Regions from separate parts of the Homo sapiens genome. Here region 1 is linked to region 2. The links are contacts of gene promoters, found by promoter capture Hi-C in blood cells and fetal thymus (Javierre and others, 2016). All regions are on one chromosome and are shown on one strand. Each heading gives the region's core, a stretch centred on a gene start or on the middle of the fragment in contact. The rest is flanking DNA. Distances are from core to core; before and after follow the strand shown. Region 1 overlaps FAM217B (family with sequence similarity 217 member B). Region 2 holds the start of AURKA (aurora kinase A).

Region 1 (7,128 bases), core at 3,350-5,849, 3.6 Mb before region 2:
CAAGTCCACAAAAACTTACATCAATTCTGTTTATCACATACAAAACTAAACATACAATATAACAGCAAATAACAAACATGCTGAATATTTTCAAGCCATTTTGAATGGTGTCCTGTACATGTACATAAATAATACATACTGCTTCTGAATTACCTTAAAATACAGTACCACCAAGAGTTATATTTCTATGTAACTACTCCATAAGTGAGCATAAAGGAATGAGGAAGTAGACGATATCCATATCAGATAAAGTAGAAAGTCTTATGTCCTTCTGAAAAGCAACACAGTAGGCCCAAGAACAACTACAAACCATTTTCCTTTTAGCTAGGAGGTATATGGCAAGACCAATGATATTCTCTTCCCCATCCTTTTTGTCACAGGGTATGAAGTCTATCCTATTCAAGTTAGTTACAAGTCTTCAGCCCATTTAGTCATCTAAGAAGTTGAGAAAGTCTAAACCTAAGTAATCACAGCAAATACTGCAAATACTGATATACTTTTAGTTCATTTTTGTACTTTTTTACATTTTTTCCATTAGATAATTCTAAGCCTAAAATATTTTTCTTTTTCTTTTTCTTTTTCTTTTTTTTTTTAAAGAAACTTGGATTGTTTTAATTGGTTTAAATGCAGGGTATATGTAAACAACTCCCCAGAAATGAGAGGCACTTCTCGGAAATACAATAACCCATGTCACTAGACTAGCAAAACACTCAGTGCTTTTGACTTGATGAATTGAATGAGTTCATGATTCAACTTTCTAATGTTGTCTACTTGAAAAATAGCAAGATTCTTATCTGCAGCATTTAATGCATTAAGATGTATTAGATAGGCATATCAGATATCATAAAATTAAAATTGTGCTTATGTTAATTCTGTAATAGACCTAACTTTAAAACACCTCATGTTATTCACTAGGAGCTATGATCTAGTCGTGACAATATTGGTTAAAATAGTCAATCTGAGGCAGAAAGTAAACAAGCAAAGTCACTTTTGCAGGCTTTTTAAACTGTATAACACATGAAATTATGACTATTCCCCAGATTATGCAACCAGCTTCAATTTAAAAAGCTGGGAACAAATATTATGAGGCGTTACTTCTCAATTTCTTTCTTTTTCTTTTTTTTTTGAAACGGAGTTTCCCTCTTGTTGCCCAGGCTGGAGTGCAATGGCACGATCTTGGCTCACCACAACCTCCGCCTCCCGGGTTCAAGAGATTCTCGTCTCAAACTTCCGAGTAGCTGGGATTACAGGCATGCACCACCACACCCGGCTAATTTTGTATTTTTAGTGGAGACAGGGTTTCTCCATGTTGGTCAGGCTGGTCTTGAACTCCCGACCTCAGGTGATCCGCCTGCCTCGGCCTCCCAAAGTGCTGGGATTACAGGCGTGAGCCACCACGCCCAGCCACCTCTAAATTTCTTAATCACGATTGTTTTCAGCTCAGACATACACAAGGCAAGTAGAATTACTAATAAATCACTTTACCCTCAACCATTCAAGGTCTCTAAGAGCATGCACATGGATACATGACGGGGAAAGGCAGCAACTCAGCATAAACACTTTAGTATTAACATAAGGAGTATATATACATATACACATATGTATAGAATATCTTGCTTTTGAATATCTATGGGCCATGAAACTTCATAGAGAGCTGCATAAAAATCTAGCAGAGAAAGGATCATAAGTGAAGTGCCAGCCATGGATAACAGACTAATCTGTGCTCACAAAAAAGGGCAGGCAAGGAACACACAGACATCACTCAGGAACTACAGGAAAACTAAGCGTAGTGCTGTTTTCCAAATATAAAACATATACTAAGTACAAAAGTTATAGTAAATTTGAGGACTACGGAAGTAATACTTACTATATGTACATCTTTTGTTCACATAAAAAGCTTAAAGTAAGATCTTAGCATAAAAGTATGCTTTCTCCAGTAGGATGGTGTGAGAGGGAAAGAATGTAAGAAGGAACTTGTACAAGTCTGAAAATTAAGTCTTGAAAGTAAAAGGCTACCATAAAAAATATTATGTCATTTGGTATGATCAAAATCAGATTTTAAAAGACCTTAAAATATAACCCTTGCACATTGTTTTTTATAATTATATACGTATAATTAGAGCTACATAATCTTGTCTTTATGCTGTTTTTGATATTTTTTCAGACATTTACTGCTGTCTGAAAAGTTTACAAGCTATTATATGTTCCCAAATGAAAAATGCCAAGTTTTTCATTTGCCCCCAAGGTGAAAAAATTGAAACCTCTACGTCAAAAACAAATACAGTAATTGTTTAAAGGGATAAAATCAACTATAATGACATGGGCCGTATTAAAATACACTGCGCAAATATGAACAGAAAACTCACAGCACAACTATAGGAACAAGAAGATGTTATTTAACTGCAGTGAAATAAGAAGGCTTGGAGAGAGTTGGGAAGCCTGAAGACCAGATAAGCGAGTTTAGAATTCATTCAGCAACCTTACTCATATTCCACTCTCCCGCCCCTCACCCCAAGCAAAATAATAAAATCCTGCTCTTGCAAACTGAAACAGATCATTATTTTTGACTAAGGACCACAGGGTGTGGAACCCAAATCAGTAACTTTGTAACTATTACACTGAATGTAGGTCCATGTGTTTTGATCCTTTTACAGGCCCTTCCTTTACAAATTGTAAAGAGTGATTTCCCTGGGGTGCCTCTCTGGAGAAGCTTTACATGCCAGCAATTCCAGAATGTCAAATATTTCATTCTCAGCCCCACCAAACAGCAGTAATCATGCTAAGCCCATTGACTTTGGAAAATTCTGCAAGTTATTTTAACCTCAGTTCGGAGAACTCAAAAGTAGGTTTTACCACCACCTCTAAGTTTAAAATGCCCCTCAAAAAAGAAAAAAAAAACCATGTCAGAGAAAATGTATTAAAGTACTAGATTCCACTGTCTCTCTAGAAAGCAACCAGCTTAGTGAGAAATGACTACTCAAAATACAAACTCACTACTCCCTGACTTGAGGAAGAACTAAAGCTTCTCCTAAGGGTAAAATGAACAGAAATTTTGCTTGAGGAGTTTATAAAAAAGTAAGCGAGGGAGTGGGCAAGAAGGACCTTATTTTAAACATTTAGGATTCCACACCATTTGAAACAGTCTGCACTATTTCATATACTTACGTGCATGTGAAAATGGGGAGGTAACACCACTAGCTGCTCTACACAGACCGGCTACTGTAGCTGAGGTTTCACTGACACTTTCCCTGGAGAGGTGCCATTTTATTCCTTTATATGGCACATATTTTACATAATTTTTATCTAAAGGGCTCTCATTTGCCTAAGACTGACAATACAAAGAAAGGCTTATTGAAAGACACTTCCCTTTGAAAATAACCCCACTCAGGGTAGAAATAAAGGTGGACAAAAATGCCAGTCAACTACTTAAATGTCAGTATTTGTAAAATTCCTTAAAATTCACAGTATTTTGACTTTTGGAAGCGCTCTAACATTGAGGTACCTGCAGGTCTTGGCAATTCAGCATTTTAGATATTTATTTTAGTTTATATGTGTTTTGCTTTACTCCGTTTGTTTTCAGTTTTTTCTCACTCGATACAGTGGCATGACCACAGCTCTCTGCCTTTCCCTTTTTCCTAGGATGTGCATGTGCTTGTGTTTTGGAGGCCTTACAGGAATCTGCTGAGTCCAGAATCACAGCTGCCTGTTTGGGAACTCGAATGTGACCGCTGGTTTCCACCTTAGAGCTGCTTCCACTGCCGGACAGATCCCAGCGCTGCAGCTTCGTACTCTTACTTGATTTCTTTTTCTTTTCTTCTGTCCTCATTTCAAGGGTTTGCCTCTGAGAACAAAACCTGGTACCACCAAGCACATCAATGGGTCTAGGGGAAGTCTCAAATGCATAATGTGATGGGTGGATTTCTTCATGGTGAAAAGCTTTCTTTCGGGAAGGGCCTGACTTTGAAGCCCCTTCCTGGTGAGGTAGTGGCTTGGACAGAGCACTAGCAATTAGCTTACTTCTCCCAGGGCTTTTCAGTGCCCCTGAGGTCCCAGGGGCAGTGGGGGGCCTTGCTTTGCCCCCCTTTGCTTTTTCACACTGTACAGTCTGGACTTGCAGCCACTCAAGCTGAATAAGTCTATCGATATACTTCCCAAGAAGTCCTCCCACTCGGGGCACGGCTTCCGTTTTGTTCTCTGCGTTCAGAAGCAGGGCCATATCTCGTAGGTCCCAGGAGCTGAAAGGGGATGGAAGGAAATTAGGATAATAGTATTCAGGTTTTGTATGGCCCTGACCAGGGTGAAGATCAAAGTAAACTGGATCAATTTCTTCAGCTCGAAGATTGAGATCTGGAGGTGTGAGGGGAGAAGGAGGAATGGGAATTCTTTCCGAATCAGAGAGATCACTTGCACTGTCCTCATCAGCATTCTCTTTAATAATTTTCATTGACTGAAAATCAAGAAACAGTTTATTCCCTGAGGCCCCCTGACACCTGGAACCGAGTGGATTCCTTTTGCGTCTTGCTTCCGGGGAAATGCTTTCTTTAAGTTTTTCTTCAGTAGGCTGGGTGACAGCTGTGAGGCTGCTTCTCGGCTGGGAAGAAGCGTGGGGTACTTGGGATTTACTCTGCCTTTTTCCTGAAGAATTCTTTGAATGTTGCACTTTATTCCAAGATGGGCCAGCATTCATATTGCTGTGAGAAAATAAAACTGCAATTCTTACCACATATGACAAAAAATGGTCTGGCTATAATTAAACAAACAAAAAGAATCTTCTAGTTGTACTTTTTTTTGTCTCAGCTATTAGTAGGCATTAGAAAATGTCAGCTTCCAAACTCCTTAAAGCATAAGTAATTTTACAGAACATTTTCCCATATAATACTCTATTTGAGATACATTATATAATGCATGTGACAAAAGAGAATGCACAGTTTCCATTTTATATCAAATATTAGCATTTAGGAAAAACATTAACATTTCTCAAAGTGCTTGTTTCATACTTTCGTGTGTACTTTAAAAAAAAAACATTAGTTTGGAAAAAATCAGTCGTAGAACTCTGGAATTGTTACCATCAAAAGCATTTAATAACATTCAGAAGTAAAAACAGTTTTATTTTATACACCTATTTTAAATTAAGTGTAAATATCAAATAAACATGCAAGTTTTGCAGTTTAATCACTGATTGGTGGCGATTCTGAGCTGAGTGAAATTTTAATATATAAAAGTATTGCACATACAAACCTGTACCTTAAATCAAAAGCTTGTTACAATGTTTTCAAACAGAAAACACATTTGGGAAAATTGTGTTTAAAGAACAGAAATAAAATCATATGGTGCCCTGTAACACATATGAATGAAAACACAGGGTCTTAGTGTTACCTTGTGAATAGCAGGTAAAGGGAATAATGAATACTGTGTGCATTATGAGTATAGAAACTAATTCTCTCTGGCATAATTTATTCTGATGCTGAATCTCACATCAGAGTTGAAAATATCCTCTTTTCAATTTATTTACCAAGAACGTGGCATTTAAGATTAATAATACTTCTCTGTAATATAAGTCAGATAGAATGAATAGAAATGGGTGGTAAACATGCTTTCTGGAAACTTCAGAGGTTCATTTGCCCAGTGGTTTCAAACAACCTAAGCAACTATTTGAATACGTGCTACATTTTAATTAATAAATATGCAGGACATTAAATCATTGCCAATAGTACAACGTGTGCTCAATAAATGTTGAATAAATGAAGAAATGAAGGAATCTCCATTATTCAGAATTCATAACACTGTTAAAACATTTTGTTCCTGCCTGTCAGTATGCATCCATAAAAATTAATTATTGTCACTATCCTTTTATATAAAAGGAAACTAACATAGAAAAGTGATTAAAGGACTTACTCAAAATTATAATTCTGCTAACAACTGCCAGAATTATGACCGTTGGAATCCTTATCCACTATTATGCTTAAACCACTTTTCTATTCATTTCTGCTAGAAAAAAATTATAAATGTATATTTCTTATCTATAGACATACTTTTTTCCCCACTCCACATATTCAATCTGGACAACAGAGATAATGAGTCTTTTGCAAGATAAAGCAATTATACTAAAACTATTTACCTGCTTTTCTGATGAGATTCATTCACCCTATTCCTCTTCTTGAAAAAATCACGTGGCTGATCATCATCTCGGGTTTGATGGACTGTCTAAAAACAGGGATGCAGTAATAAACACTGTGAACATGTACACAAGAAACAAGCAAGCAAACAAACAAAAATCCCAGAATAAATCTAAGTCAGATTTTTCTTCTAAGTTTACATTACCTTTCCTGTAGTGCTCAAAATATTCTTGCTCAATCTGCTGGAAGATGATGACAGCTGGGGAGGTGACTTCTTTATTCCTCTTATATTTGGAAAGGTCTCCTCACCACCGGAACTAGAAGCAACAGAATACTGTCAGTAACTATTGATTGCAAATGGTCCTACCACCAGTATCGGGTTGGTTTTTCACTTGTTTTTTAATACTTGTATAATATTGAAATATTAAGGCTGTGATCATATAGTGGTTTGCACTCTAGGTTATGAAATACTGGGGAAGGGAGACATTGTCTTATGCTTACAGCTTTGTCTTTTCTGCTTATTACAGTAGATATTAGAGACAGGATCACAGGATCACACTACTATAAATACTGTGAATGGATTCCATCTCTCTCTCTCTCTCCCTGTTCACACACAGGTATAATCTTCCTTGGAAATAATATGTTGAAGAAATCTGGAAGGCTAAATAAGGTCAGGTCTTATTACAGCGTTCAATCATTGCATTGCCCAATCATTCATTCATGCAACAAATAATTACAGGAGTACCCAGAAAAATGGCAATGATTATGCACGTCCCTGTTCAGAAGGAGCTTAAACTCTAGGAGGAACGTTCCCATTCAATTTTTCGGCCTTCTCTATCACATCAATCCATTATAAGACTTTCCATATATTCATACATATTACATATTATATATCATCTCTTTATGAAGCATTGTTGACCTATACCACATATTGCTGTTATTCCCCTCTCATTTTGAGTGGCCTATTAAAAGTGCACTGAATGGAAATTGGATACTTCTCTTTCCCGTATCA
Region 2 (6,854 bases), core at 1-2,500:
AAATCACAAGTGGGTAGTCTGGCAAAGAAAAGTTGATGAGAGATTCTACTGTTAACGTTGGGTTAATATGACTCGAATAATTTCCGTATGCTAGCTCAATGCTTTACATGCACATCCTGTTTACCCTGCAGTAATCTGTTAATTCGTCTTATGTGAATTTAACTCTTAGTCCTAATAAGGTACCTGGAAGGATGGAGGGAAGCCATTTTTGGTTCCCCTACACCACTGTTCTATCCGGTCTCTTCACTTCTGCTGAGCACATCCCGGGTGTACATACACACACACACACACACATATGTGTGTGTATATATATGTATATGTGTGTGTGTGTGTATATATATATATATTTTAAGTGGCCCACCCCTAACTTCTCAACTCCCACAGAACGTTCACTCGCCAGGTAAACAGAAGCCTAATTATCCCCAATTTGCAGGTGAGCACACGAGGACAAGAACCCGATCCAGGACCGGATACATCGCAGTTGGAAAGGCTAGAACACAGATGCCCCCTCACTATATGCGCCGCGACCATCTGGATGCAGAGGCGAACTAAGGACTGGGTGGGAATGGAAGCGAGGCCCTTCGAGAAGAGGAAGGGGTGCAGGCCAAGCCGGGCAACTTAGGAAACGCAAAGTAGAGGCGCATGCCACCTTGCTAACTCTCGACTCTTCCAGTCTCGCCCCAGTCGTTTCTGTGGTTTTCTCTAAATGCCCCAGCCGACCGCACCAGCTACTCTCCCCGTGTCCCAGTACCAGCTGGTCCGGTTCTCTTGGTATCCCGCTCTCTCCTGGAAAAATGGAGGCGCGAATCCTGCCCAATCTACCGCTCCGAGCGCACGTTCACTGCGCACGCTGAAAGGGCGCCAAGCCGACCGCTGCGCTATCGATCGGTCCCACTCTCTCTTGCTTTTCTCGCCATCTTACTTACTGGCACGTTCAAAGGTTAGTTCACCTCCTTGGACTTTATCTCCAATGCGTCAAGCTTGACGTCAAGGGGCTGTTGCTTCACCGATAAATGGCCGACCGCGGAGAGCACCCTGGGGCTGGGACTGCCACAGGTCTGGCTGGCCGTTGGCTCCACCACTTCCGGGTTCTTAGGGAGCAAGTGCGCCTGCGCGCGGTGTGCGCCCTTAAACGCGACTCAAGGCGTCGGGTTTGTTGTCAACCAATCACAAGGCAGCCTCGCTCGAGCGCAGGCCAATCGGCTTTCTAGCTAGAGGGTTTAACTCCTATTTAAAAAGAAGAACCTTTGAATTCTAACGGCTGAGCTCTTGGAAGACTTGGGTCCTTGGGTCGCAGGTGGGAGCCGACGGGTGGGTAGACCGTGGGGGATATCTCAGTGGCGGACGAGGACGGCGGGGACAAGGGGCGGCTGGTCGGAGTGGCGGAGCGTCAAGTCCCCTGTCGGTTCCTCCGTCCCTGAGTGTCCTTGGCGCTGCCTTGTGCCCGCCCAGCGCCTTTGCATCCGCTCCTGGGCACCGAGGCGCCCTGTAGGATACTGCTTGTTACTTATTACAGCTAGAGGTACAAGGGGTTTGTTGAGTGGTGTTGACATGCGCGGGAGGGGTGGGTGGGCTTCAGATTGGATTTTGTCCTCCGAGATCACCTGGGTAAGAAAAGCACAGAAGGTCTCTGCTGTGTTGGAGTTCACGTTCTAGTGGGTGGGGAGACAGACGGTAAGCGTACGGAGAACTTGCAGCTGGGGTGGGTGTTACAGAGGAAAAGCAGGAGTGCGGTTTAACGGGGGCCGCTTTAGATAGAATAGCCTAAGAAGGCCCTTGTCCTGGCTGGATGAGTGGGTGAATTGATGAATGAGAACCTCCTTGCAGAGGCCTTCCCGGTCCGTACTTCTCAGACCGTAGACCTTGGAGCAGTTGTACCGGGATAACTTGCAGTGCTTGTTAAACATATAGCTCCACCGAGAGCCCGGTAAATCAGAATCTCTGAGGGGTAGGACCCAGGTGTCTAGTTATTAACAAACTCTCCAGATGATTCTTAGGTTTCATTGAGAACTAGGGATGCAGACCGGTGCATACAAATCGTCTGGGGACGTTAAAATGCAGAATCTGTTTTTTTAGACCTGGGGTTAGGCCTCAGAGTCTCCATTTCTAAGAACCATCCGGCTGAGGTAGACGTAGCCACTGTCCTTAACTCTCGTAATGTCTCTTCCTCTTCCGTAACCTTCCTTGTCCCTTGAATTAAACGTTTTTCAGCAACCTACTCAGTTCGTCCTTCCCTTCATCTCTGCAGACATGCACAGGTCTGAGGGAGGAAGGAATAAACCGTATAAACCTCCTGCGCTATTAGCCTAACAGCTTTTCTATTCAAAATAGTAGGACTTCTGGTTTGAACTGAATGGATCCTGTGAAAGTCATCTGGTTCTTCAATCTGGTTGCAGATTAGAGTCACCTGAAGGGCAGTCTCCTTGGCGTTGTCTCCAGAATTCTGGATTAGAATCTTATTCCATTCTGCTTGTTATTCAATTTCCCTAGAAAGAAAGGTAGAATAAATTGGAGCAAATGCCTGTAGCTTCTGTCAGAAGAATGTTGAATAAATGTTGTTAGGCCTATGTGATCTCATTAGACTGCTACTTAGAATTGTAAGGGAAGTAAAGCATTAGAGCATGTGTGAAATTAAATATTTGATTAACACAAGTGTGCATTTCCTTGTTGCTGTTTATCAACTTTTACTTACCCACTGTTTTTTTATAAGGGCTGCAGCCTGTAGTCTGGGCCTGGCTTCATCATGGAATTATTTGCTTAATTGTAAAATGGTAATCTTAATTTTTTTTTTTGAGACAGGGTCTCACTCCATTGCCCAGGCCAGAGTGCGGGGATATTTGATAAGAAACTTCAGTGAAGGCCGGGCGCGGTGGCTCATGCCCGTAATCCCAGCATTTTCGGAGGCCGAGGTGGGTGGATCACCTGAGGTCGGGAGTTCCAGACCAGCCCTACCAACATAGAGAAACCCTGTCTCTACTAAAAATACAAAATCAGCTGGGCGTGGTGGTGCATGTCTGTAATCCCAGCTACTCTGGAGGCTGAGGCAGGAGAATTGCTTGAACCCAGGAGGTGGAGGTTGCGGGTGAGCCGAGATTGCGCCATTGCACTCCAGCCTGGGCAACAAGAGCAAACTCTATCTCAAAAAAAAAAAAAAAGAAACCTCAGTGAAATGAAAGACTGAACTACACACCTGGGGGAAAAGCGTAATAAAGGGAGCAAGAAGTGCAAATGCTTATGGCAGGGGACTTATTTGCAGAAAGAAAGCCTTGTGTGGCTGGTACACGGTTGACAAGAAGAGGAGATGAAGTCAGAGAGGTAGTTAGGGTCCATGTTCTGTGAGACTTCAATAGGCCTGTCTATGCAGGTTAGGAGTTTGCATTGTTTTGATTGAGTTGGGAGCCATGGGGGTCTTCTGAACTGAGGATCAACACATCTGATTTGTTAATGAGATTGCCGGCCTCAGTGTTAAGAATGGACCATGACAGGGTAAGGGTGGAAGTGGGGAGGCCATTGGGAGGCTGTTGGAAAAAACTCAAGGGAGAGAGAATAATGGTTTGACCAGGTGGTAGTAGTAGAGGTGGTGAGCAGTGATCTTGAAGGCAGAGCCTACAGAATATGCTGGTGGATTAAATGAAGGGTTTGCGAGAGAGAACCTCGTAAAGGGTTATTATGCCAAGGCTTTTGGCCTGAGCAACTGACAGGATGGGTTTGCCATGCACTGAGATGAGGATGTCTAGAGACTAGATTTGGGGAGGTGAGAGTGGGGAGAGATTAGGACTTCTGTTTGGGACATGTTAGAATGGAGATGCCGCTCAGATAATCAGGTGCAGATGTTGCATAGAAAGTAGAAAATGTAGATCAAGAGTTCAGGGGAGAGGTCTGGGCTGAAGAATGAATATTTGGGAGTCCTCAGCCTGTAGATGGTACTGAAAGCAAAGAGACTGGATGTACTCGGCTAGGGAGTAATTGGAGATGGAGAAGTCATTCTAGGCCTGAGCTCAGGGCACACCCATGAACAGGGAGGTGAGAAGTGGAGAAGGGAAGAGGTTCAGTTTTGGATATGTTAGGATTGAGGTGCCTGGCAGACATTTTTGGGAGATCCTGGGCAAATCCTTGGATATCCAAGTCTGACAGTCCAAGGAGAGACTAGGGCAGAAGACGCACTTTGAGTGGTCCTCATGAAGGCATTTAGAGCTGAGGCACTGGGTGATATGGATCCCTGGTGAAGGTGTAGATGGAGAAGTGGAGGGTCCAGGGACTCGTTCTTGAGTCACCCCAGACCCTTGATCTGGCAAAAATGAGACTGACCCAGCAAGGAGGGAAAGACAGGACGACTAGGTGGTAGATAAACCTGGAAGTGAAGTGAAGAAAAAAGTGTAAGATGTGATCAACCTTGTCAGATTCTGCTGAGGATGCAAGTACGGGGAAGGTGGAATTGACCCTTGGGTTTGGCAGCAGTAGGTGTCAGCCATGAGCCTGACAATGTGGTGGAGACAAAAAAGCCAGGTGGGGATGGGCTCAGGGGAGGGGAGAGGAGCAGTAGAGGTGGCAAGTGTGGACGGTTCTTCTGGAGCTTTGCTGTTGGAGAGGAGGGGGTCATTGTTAGCAACGATAATAGAATAAAGAGGACTTTTATTTTATTTTATTGTTTTGAGACGAAGTCTCGCTCTTTTCCCATAGGCTGGAGTGCAATGGTGTGATCTCAGCTCACTGCAACCTCTGCTTCCTGGGTTTAAGTGATTCTCCTGCCTCAGCCTCCCGAGTAGCTGGGATTACAGGTGACTGCCACCACGCTCAGCTAAGTTTTGTATTTTTAGTAGAGACGGGGTTTCACCATGTTGGCCAGGCTGGTCTCGAACTCTTGACCTCAGGTGATCCGCCCACCTCGGCCTCCCAAAATGCTGGGATTACAGGTGTAAGCCACCATGCCCGGCCTAAAGAGGACTTTTTTAAGGTAGCAGGTATGCCAGTAGGCTGCACAGGGATGGAAGTGATCCATTAGAGGAGAGATGATGGAGCAGCAAGACCATCAGGAGTGAAGACTCCGTGACAGAGGATGGGACGCAGTGCCCAAGGGGAGGTTGGCCTTGCAGGGAAAGCACATGCCTGTCCCTCCCTCATTAGCTTCATTTGGACAAAACATGTAAAATCCGGTGTGTTGTGGAGGCCTTTTGATTGGGGAACTGTAACGCTGCCTATCGAGCAACAGCACTTTAAGCAGGTGGCTTTGTTCAAATTAAAGGTTCTTCTTTTTCTTTTCAGGCATCATGGACCGATCTAAAGAAAACTGCATTTCAGGACCTGTTAAGGTAAATTGAATAATCTGTAATCTCATTCACATTTATAAACCCACATGGAGGTTGGTCTTGTCGGGAATTCTTTCCGCCTTTACTTTGGATTTAAATTTAGATCCCTTACTGTGATCCTGGATATGAATTAGTCACTTTTCTCGTGTTCAGTAACATTTTGCTGCTTCTTAGAGTAGCTTTTTTGTTCTGCTTTGTCTTATAATCGGCTGCTTAAGTTTCTATATCCCTCCACTGTATGCAGGATAATAGTAATAATGCATCTGGCAGGAGTTCAAAACTTTTAAAATTGGCCATAAATATAAAATAATTAGAAAAAGGCTACCTTGAATTACTGTATTTGATTCTAAGTTCCTATGATAACGGCCATTTAAAAAATTGCTCTATATTTAAAATGTTTCTTTTTATTTGTCTTTGTCTGAATGCCTGCTGCGTTGTGGACAGTGTGCTAATTTCAGGAGTAACTGACTTTGTATTTGGAAGTCTTAACACCCTCTCTTTGTAGAGCACTCATACCGTTGAGCTGGGGATGGACTTTGAGGCTTTCATTTCTAGCACTTGTCCCTCACTTACAATGAGCTGTTGAAGCTGAAGGAAATCTCATCCCTCCTACCCCTTTTAGTTTGATTAGCTGAGGGTGTTAGAGTTAACTTAACAATTTAAGGTTGTAATACAGTACTTACAGGCGTATAAATAATACATTTCAAGGCTGGGCGCGGTGGCTCACGCCTGTAATCCCAGCACTTTGGGAGACCAAGGAGAGTGGATCACAAGGTCAGGAGTTCAAGACCGGCCTGGCCAAGATGGTGAAACCCTGTTTCTACTAAAAATACAAAAAATTAGCCAGGCGTGGTGGCAGGCGCCTGTCGTCCCAGCTGCTTGGGAGGCTGAGGCAGAGAATTGCTTGAACCTGGGAGGCAGAGGTTGCAGTGAGCCGAGATCATGCCACTGCACTCCAGTCTGGGTGACAGAGCAAGACTCCATCTCAAAAATAATAATAATAATACATTTTAGTAGTAACTTTGTGAAGTGTCTACATTTGTTTCCTCTTTGTCAGTTTTTTGCTCAATTCCATTTTGTCAATACTTGGAAAATGAAACATTGGTTAATCAATAGTACAGTAATAAGCTTATTGTGGAAAATCTTCGATATATGAAAACTTAGACTCTTCTAAAACTTCATGAAGATAATACCACTGTTGAACGTTTTGACGTATTTTTTTTTGGTCTTTTTCTTAAACGTATATTATCAAAGAAATTTCAATGGAACTGAGATTTTGGCATAAAGTTTTTGTATCATAGCTTTTTGCCAAATAGCAATGTAGTGTCTATTTCCAAATTATTGAGAAATTTTAGAAAGTGTCTCCTTCATTAATGGATATTTGTTAATAAAGCATGATTTTTAGGGGTGAGGAATTGGAGGGGATAGAAGGTATCATTCAGGTATTCTTAGCCACATACTAACTATCCTCTGGAGGTACTGATTAAAATACCTTTTCACCTTCCATCTCTTATCAGTGACATTCATTATTTTGCTATACTAGAGAAC

The links. The method cuts DNA at HindIII sites, captures the fragments that hold promoters and counts their contacts. A CHiCAGO score of 5 or more calls a contact.
Region 1: a fragment that was not itself captured here is called in contact with the fragment with the promoter of AURKA in region 2 in 4 of 17 cell types (non-activated CD4 T cells, M0 macrophages, total CD8 T cells and 1 more); the score reaches 12.6 in non-activated CD4 T cells.

The regions. Positions count from the first base shown.
Region 1 is chr20:59,941,503-59,948,630 of GRCh38, reverse strand. It overlaps FAM217B (family with sequence similarity 217 member B), which reads right to left. Exons shown (of 4, transcript NM_022106.3): 2 at 6,322-6,433; 3 at 6,119-6,204; 4 at 1-4,691. The coding sequence starts at 4,687. The coding sequence ends at 3,536. Among named protein-coding and RNA genes, the nearest start is that of FAM217B, 4.7 kb to the right of the region's middle. The HindIII fragment of the contact is 1,321 bases long and covers 3,939-5,259 here.
Region 2 is chr20:56,386,611-56,393,464 of GRCh38, reverse strand. It overlaps AURKA (aurora kinase A), which reads left to right and starts at 1,250. Exons shown (of 9, transcript NM_198437.3): 1 at 1,250-1,297; 2 at 5,263-5,309. The coding sequence starts at 5,268. CSTF1 (cleavage stimulation factor subunit 1) reads right to left here and starts at 820. Exons shown (of 6, transcript NM_001324.3): 1 at 752-820. RefSeq lists enhancers at 865-1,104, 6,180-6,854. The HindIII fragment of the contact is 5,454 bases long and covers 983-6,436 here.